Linked DNA regions of Homo sapiens: region 1 is linked to region 2. Evidence: promoter capture Hi-C in human tissues and cell types (Jung and others, 2019). All regions are on one chromosome and are shown on one strand. The core of a region is centred on a gene start or on the middle of the fragment in contact, and the rest is flanking DNA. Distances in the headings are between cores, read along the strand shown. Region 1 overlaps ASXL2 (ASXL transcriptional regulator 2). Region 2 holds the start of MPV17 (mitochondrial inner membrane protein MPV17).

Region 1 (3,878 bases), core at 1,159-3,658, 1.5 Mb after region 2:
TGATTGTCTACTTATACAAATATGTAATTTATGAATAATGGCAATTTTCTTTTTCTTTTTTTTTTTTGCCATTTTGTACCAGCCAGGACTTACAGAAAATAGTGGAACAGACATGGTACTATCAATTATCCTTTTCATTCTCTACCTTTAAGGTAAAGCTTTTAATATTATAATTTTTGTTTGTTTGTTTTTGAGACAGGGTCTCTCTCTGTCACCTAGGCTGGAGTGCAGTGGTGTGATCTCGGCTCACTGCAACCTCCACCTCCAGGGTTCAAGCAAATTCTCATGCCTTGGCCTCCTGAGTAGCTGCGATTACAGGTGTGTGCCACCACACCCAGCTCATTTTTGTATTTTTAGTAGAGATAGGGTTTCACCATTTTGGTCAGGCTGGTCTCAAACTCCTGGCCTCAAGTGATCCACCTGCCTTAGCCTCTCAAAGTGCTGGGATTACAGGCGTGAGCCACCAATACCCAGCCTTTTAATATTATAATGTTTTAAGAATGATGTGGGCCGGGCGTGGTGGCTCACGCCTGTATTCCCAGCACTTCAGGAGGCCAAGACAGGCGTATCACAAGGTCAGGAGATCGAGACCATCCTGGCTAACACGGTGAAACCACATCTCTACTAAAAATACAAAAATTAGCCGGGCGTGGTGGCATGCGCCTGTAGTCCCAGCTACCTGGGAGGCTGAGGCAGGAGAATCACTTGAACCTGGGAGGCGGAGGTTCCAGTGAGCCAAAATTGCACTACTGCACTCCAGCCTGGTGACAGAGCAAGACTCCATCTCAAAAAAAAAAAAAAAAGAATGATGTGGAGTAGTAGGTTGTTTGTAGATACTTTTTAGTAGATGAAGTTAGTTTCCTTTTATTTGTAATTTGCTAAGAGATTTTCTAATACACAGATGTTGAATTTTATCAGTTGCTTTTCCTTCATGTACATAATTCCTGTAGTGAATTATATTGATTTTACGTATTAAATGTTAAACCAACCTTGTGTTCCTTGGATAAACCAACTTGGTTGTGATATATTATTAATCATCTGTATCATAGATTTTATTTGCTCATAGTTTGCGTTTAACTCTAAGGTTTGCCTGCATGTTTTCCCCATATAATGTCCCTGTTAAAATTTGGTATCATAAAAAAGTTGGTAATTGGTTTTTGGTTCTCTGAAATAATTTGTATAAGATTGTTGTTTTTGTAGGCCAGGTGCAGTGGCTGACACCTATAATCCCAGCACTTTGGGAGGCTGAGGTGGGTGGATCACCTAAGGTTATGAATTTGAGACTCAGCCTGGCCAACATGGTGAAGTCCCATCTCTACTAAAATTACAAAAGTGAGCCAGGCGTGGTGGTGGGCACCTGTAATCCCAGCTACTTGGGAGGCTGAGGCAGGAGAATTGCTTGAACCTGGGAGGTGGAGGTTGCAGTGAGCCAAGATTGCATCATTGCACTCCAGCCAGGGGACGGAATGAGACTCTGTCTCAGAAAAAATAAAGATTGTTTTTCTTCCTTAAAAGGTTTGGGGGGTGGGCACAGTGACTCACTCCTGTAATCCCAGCACTTTGGGAAATGGAGGTGGGCCAATCACTTGAGGTCAGGAGTTTGAGACCAGCCTGGCCACCATGGTGAAACCCCATCTCTACTAAAAATAAAGAAATCGGCCTGACATGGAGGCGGGTGCCTGTAATCCCAGCTACTCCAGAGGCAAGGCACGAGAATCACTTGAAGCTGGGAGGCGCAGGTTGCAGTGAGCTGAGATTGTGCCACTGTCCTCCAGCCAGGGAGACAGAGCGAGACTCTGTCTCAAAAAATAAACAAACAAACAAATAAATAAATAAGTTTGGGAGAATTTCCTGATAGAAACCTGGGCTGAAATGTTCCTTTTTAGGGATATTTTACTTTTAATTAAATTCATCATAAATATGGTAAAACATACAGATCACAAGTCTATAATTCACCTACATGAATGGGAATATGAGTTAGAATAAATGAGAATACTTATAATTCCTTGACTTGGGGAAAAATTCTATTAGCCTGGGCAGCACTATAATAGCTTATATTCAATGAATGACAGTGTTAAGTTCACACCATCTGTATAGCTCTGGAAAATAGGCTAAATAAAAACAAGTGTTATGCTTCAAATTGTGTCCCCTTCAAAAAGATATATTGAAATCATAACCTCTGGTACACCAGAATGTGTGCTTATTGGGAAACAGAGCTGTTGTAGAGTTAATTAGTTAAGATGAAGTCATACTGTAGTAGGGTGGGTCATTAGTCCACTAAGACTAGTGTCTTTATAAGATGGGTCATATGAAGACATGGAGACATGAAGAGAGTGCCGTGTGACGATGGAGACGAGGTTGAAGTGATGCTGCTATAACCCAAGGAATGCCAAAGATTGCTGGATGTTACCAGAAACTAAGAGAAAGGGACGGAATAGCTTATCTCACAGAAGGAACCATCCTTGCTGACACATCAGTTTTGGATTTTCAGCCTCCAGAACTGTGAAGGAATAAGTGTCTTGTTTTATACCACCTAGGTTATGTACTTTTTAAAATGACAGGTCTGGGGAATTAACATAGGGAGTAAAGTTCATTCTTCATTATACAATGTATTCAGTATGTTATATTCCCATGAAATCTTTTAAAATATTGTATAGTCATCATCTCTGCTGCCATAATCTTTCTGTTAACATTTTAATTATCTTCCTTAAGTGAGACTTGCAGCCAAAGCTGAAGGAGGCTTACATATACAAGGGTTTGGTGCCACCTACTTTCTTAATTTCTTTTTTTAGTTGGGAGACAGGGTCTTACTCTGTCACCCAGGCTGGAGGCAGTGGCGTGATCACAACTCAAGTGCAGTCTCAACTTCTTAGGCTCAGGTCATCCTCCTGCCTCAGCCCCCCAAGTAGCTGGGACTACAGCACGCCACCGCACCTGGCTAACTTTATATTTATTTATTTATTTATTTATTTATTTATTTATTTATTTATTTAGAGATGGAGTTTCACTCTTTCGCCCAGGCTGGAGTGCAGTGGTGTGATCTCAGCTCACTGCAACCTCCGCCTTCCGATTTCAAGCAATTTTCCTGCCTCAGCCTCCCAAGTAGCTGGGATTACAGGCATGTGCCACCACGCCCGACTAATTTTTGTATTTGTAGTAGAGTCGGGGTTTCACCATGTTGGCCAGGCTGGTCTTGAACTCTTGACCTCGTGATCCTCCCACCTCAGCCCCACAAAGTGCTGGCATTACAGTCGTGAGCCACCGCACCCGGCCATGTATTTTTTTTTTACATAGACAAGATTTTGCCACGTTGCCCAGGCTGGTCTCGAACTCAAGTGATCCCACCCGCTTTGGCCTCCCAAAGTACTGGGATTACAGGTGTGAGCCACTGTGTCCAGTCTGGAAGGCAGTTTATAATACTGAATACCTCCTGTCAATAAGGACAAACTAAAAGAAGCAAACTACTCTAAAAATTAGAAAAAAAAGAATAATAAAGTAAACTAATAGATAGCTGAAGAAAATAATTTATAATAAAAAAAATGGTGGAAATTACTAAATTAGAAGAGAAAAATGGTAGAAAAGGTTGGTTTTTAAATGAATCAATATAATAGACAAACTTTGTTAACCTCCTTTTTTTTTTTTAAAGGAAAAAACCATGAGTATATAAATTCAGGTTGAAATTTCAAAACAATTAAAAAACCATCAGACTTTTTCACAGTACTTTGTAGATGAAATGGGATACTTTTCTAGGAAAATACAGTACACAAAAATTGAACCCAGTAGAGATAGAAAGTATAAATAGAGTTTCATAGAAGTAGACCTGTGTTAGAACTCCCCTTCAAAAGAACACTGTACCCACATGTTCAGAGAAATTCAAT
Region 2 (4,090 bases), core at 1,029-3,528:
GTGGCTCACGCCTGTAATCCCAACACTTTGGGAGGCCAAGGCAGGCGGATTACTTGAGGTCAGAAGTTCAAGACCAGCCTGGCCAATGTATGGTGAAACCCCGTCTCTACCAAAAATGTAAAAAATTAGCCAGGTGTGATGGCACACACCTGCAATCCCAGCTACTCAGGAGGCTGAGGCAGAAGAATCATTTGAACCTGGGATGCAGAGGTTGCAGTGAGCCGAGATCCTGCCACTGCACTCCAGCCTGGGTGACGGAGCGAGACTCCGTCTCAAAAAGAGTTCAGCCCCTATCCTGTACAGATGAGAAAATAGACCTGGAGGAAACCCAAGTCTATCAACAGCAGAGACCACAACCCATGTCAGTGCAAAGAAGCCAAGTGTTGCACTACCCTATTGGGATCCAGCTCACATTGAGCCAGTTTTGTTTTTTGAGCTGTTACGCAAGTGCCTTCTGTCGAAGAGAAGCTTTACTCAATTCTACAGGGCAGCCCCCTTCCTATTTTCAGTGGTAGAAAAGATGAGACCTGGGGATCCACACTTGAGGCTGTAGATTGGTGCTGGCAGCCCTGCTTCTGCAACTGAGTCTCAGCCCTAGTCTTGACCTTGTTCTTTTTCTCTAACAAGCCTTTTCTCTTTCTAACCCTCCCTCCCAATATACCCACTTCATACTATCCATTGTTCATACACTTCTCTACCTTTATTCCTCTTCTCATATTCCTCCCTTCGCCAGAGTGTCTTTTTCCACCATCTTCACCTGAGTTCAATTCATCCTTCAAGGTCCCGGCTCAAATTCCACCTTCACCAAAGAGCTTCCCAGTTTTCTCCAGTAAAAAATAGTTTCCCTCCCTTGTGTTCCCAAGGGGGAAGGGAGGAAAAAGGATAAACAAGCATTAAGCACTTGATCCATTTTAGGCACTTCGCATGTGTCACTTGTATGAGGTAGGTATTGCCATTTTACTTAATGATAAAAGAGTTGGAGAGGGTAAGCTGTCTGTAAAAGGTCAAGGTCATATAACTAGTAAGTGGTGGTGCTGGGGATTTGAACTCAGTCTAACTTCAGAATATAACTTTACAGCCTACCACATTTGGTCTCCTATTACATTTACTTTTGTCAGTTCACTCCTCTAGCATGCTGTTTTGCAAATAGCATTTTAGTTAAATGTTTGTGACATTGACTTCTCTTGCTTCCTTACTCTGTTTCTCCAGGATTTGTGGCAGGAGTCTCCCTGCCTTAATCATAAAGGAATTGAGTAAATTGGGGGTGGAGCTGGGCAGGTGGAGAGCCTGAAAGAGTGTGCCTCCTGACGTGTGGGCTCCCTGGAGATAAGTAAAGCCTGCCAGCCTGACAAGTCCATTGCCAGGGATATTGTAGACATTTCCAACGCTCTAGAAAGGATATTGCTCTATATTCACAGACTCTTAGAATGTTAGAGCTGGAAGGGGATTAAGAAATCACCTAGCTTACTGGTTTTCAAACATGCAGTTGTGGGCCCCGTTAAAAATGGGTCTTTTGAGAAGTATATACTTGGAAAAAAAAGTTGGAGAAGCAGCTGTAGTAATGCTGCCCCTCTCATCCCCACACACAAACATCTGAAAAATCCCTAGAACTGAGGAGCCGAGTTTGGAAAGTCAATAGTGTAACCTCCCTCATTTTACAGATGCAGAGCCTTAACATCAAGTCTAGTCATGACCAAGGCTGCACAGCCCGTTAGTTTGGGAGCCAATACCTAATGTCTTCTGAGGTTCTAATTCCAATGCTTTCTGTGGAAGAATCATACATACGCAGTATTTCTTAAGTGGCTGTTTGCGGCAAAGCACTGAAATAGTTGCTATGAGGACGACAAATATGAACGACCCCAGTTTTACCCACTCATGAGCTCACAGTTGAGGCCAGTGAAGAACCTAGAGACAAAACACGCACTTAACTATAACTTATAGTTCCCTAACTACGATTGCTGAGACAAGGATCGTAGTTATGGCCAGTTATGCGGGGAGGGTGGGCTGAACAATGAGACTACCGGATTGAGAGAGGCCCGGGTCTCGCGCGGAGAGAAGGGGCAGGAGGAGGCAGAGGGTCGAACTTAGGTGAGAAATATGGCTGGCGGGCCCCACACCAGGGTCCGGCACAGTCCAGCTGGAAAAGGGGTCTCTCACAGAGTGGGTGGCCGAGTTAGGCCGCTCTCCACGGGTATTCATGGCTCGGTCCACCCCCATTCCTGTCCTGGCTGCGTAATCCGAAGGACGCTGGGAGGAAGGGGCGGGACTTGTGGCGGAAGTTCCTAGGCCAGCCTGTCACGTGGGAGGGAGGCTCGGCGCTCAGGTGAGTGGCGGGTGATCTGCGGTCTCTGGCTTAAAGCGTCGCAAGCCATGAGTGCCCACAAGGTGTGTGGTCATCCTATATCCGGGCAGTGACGGGCCCTATTTTCGGTTTGGAGCTGGACTCAGGAAGGTTACAAACTGGTTCCAACCAAGTCTGAATCTGGAGACGGACCAAGCTATCTTTTGAGGCACCCAAGCTCTGGGTAGAAGCCAGAGCAAAGCTGTCCTCATGAGTGTCTCCGTCGGGAACGGAGGCTTCCAGGTGGTCTGGCTTCAGGAATGAGGTTGGGGTGGCTGGTGGCTGCTACCAGGAGTCCATAGCTTCCCACAGCCTTTCTCTCTTCCCCAATTGTCTAAGGCGACTCCTGCGACAGGAAGCTGTCTGGGAAGCATCCTTCATGTGGCCTCTGCCCCTTTAAGTCACATTGGAAGTGGGAAGGGGAAGGGAGTGGGCACAAGGGAATGTCAGGCGGCTTCTTAGTCGTGGAGAGGGACGGTGGGGGTGACCCCCTCTCCTCTTGGCTTGACAGGAAGCATGGCACTCTGGCGGGCATACCAGCGGGCCCTGGCCGCTCACCCGTGGAAAGTACAGGTCCTGACAGCTGGTGAGTGTCCCTCTAGGACTTGAGTGGGACCAGGGCAGACTGATTTGGAAGCCAGAGGCTTGCCCCACTGCACCACCCTCACTTCCTGTTTCTATTCGGCTCTCTTGAAGGGTTGGCTGTCTTTCATCCTACACTGTCCCCAGTCTGTTTTGGAGGGTGGTCCCCAAGGCTGTTTTTAAGGGGTATGCGTAGTTGGCCAAGCTGTGCAGTAGGGTTTTAGGATTTCAAAGTCCTCAAAAAGCTGAACAGTCAGCCCTGAAGGATAAAGGCATTGCCCCAGGAGGCCTCAACTTGGAAAACATTTTACCGTATGCAAAGCACTTTCATATACGTTATGGCATAGGGCCCCCACAAAGGTGTGTGAGCTAGGAGGGTTACTTGAGTCCACATTAGATCACACCTAATAAGTGCTGAATCAAGACTCTTACCCCAGTTTTTCTTGGTATTTTTTATTGTGAAACATACAAAAGAATGATTAAGATGTGTATGTACAGTTTAAATGGCATTAAAACTGAACACTCCTGTGTCAGTAATCAGCTTTGAGACCTCTTGAGTGCCTCTCCGTAATTCACCCAAAATTTCCTGAGTTTTGTTTATATCGTTCATTTGCTTTTGTTATCATTTACTGCCTAAATATGTATCTCCAAGGTTAGTATATTGGTATCTGATCACTCCATCCTGATCCATTTGGAGTGATCAGATACCAGTCACTCCAAATGCAGTGATTGAGTACTAACCTCACAGAGGTAATGCAGTGACCTACCTGCATTTGTTACCATCTTCATTTTGCAAGTTAGCTAATGTAAGAGGATGGCATGAAGATAAGTAAGTCTTAGAGGGGGAATGTCAGAAGGCCTTAGAACATTGGGGTGCAAAGAGTGATCACATTAAGATGAGGTCTTGCCCATGTTTAGAGAAGGGGAACAGGATTCTAGTGATGACTGGCCTTCTGAGAAGAGGACTATTGGAAGGGATTGGGGGCTACTGAAGGCCAGAGTGGAACAGGGATCCTGTGACCAGAACAGCCCTGCATCGGCACAGAAACTTAACTGCATGAATGGCCAGGAGATGGATTCTTTGGCCCTTCCCTGGGCCCCTCTCCAGTCTCCGGTGCCCAACCACCTCTTGTCCTGTCCTCAGCGTCCGTCAGCCTGTATGACTCA

Evidence for each region. The method cuts DNA at HindIII sites, captures the fragments that hold promoters and counts their contacts. A contact is called where the count stands out against the background at its distance.
Region 1: a fragment that was not itself captured here is called in contact with the fragment with the promoter of MPV17 in region 2 in 1 of the 25 tissues and cell types used here (H1 embryonic stem cells).

What each region holds. Positions count from the first base shown.
Region 1 is chr2:25,783,169-25,787,046 of GRCh38, reverse strand. All of the region lies in intron 5 of ASXL2 (ASXL transcriptional regulator 2), which reads left to right. Among named protein-coding and RNA genes, the nearest start is that of ASXL2, 93 kb to the left of the region's middle. The HindIII fragment of the contact is 8,065 bases long and covers 1-3,878 here.
Region 2 is chr2:27,321,285-27,325,374 of GRCh38, reverse strand. MPV17 (mitochondrial inner membrane protein MPV17) reads left to right here and starts at 2,278. Exons shown (of 8, transcript NM_002437.5): 1 at 2,278-2,323; 2 at 2,853-2,927. The coding sequence starts at 2,858. RefSeq lists enhancers at 1,469-2,441, 2,564-2,623, 2,674-2,723, 2,734-2,823, 2,834-2,883 and 2 more. The HindIII fragment of the contact is 20,851 bases long and covers 1-2,583 here.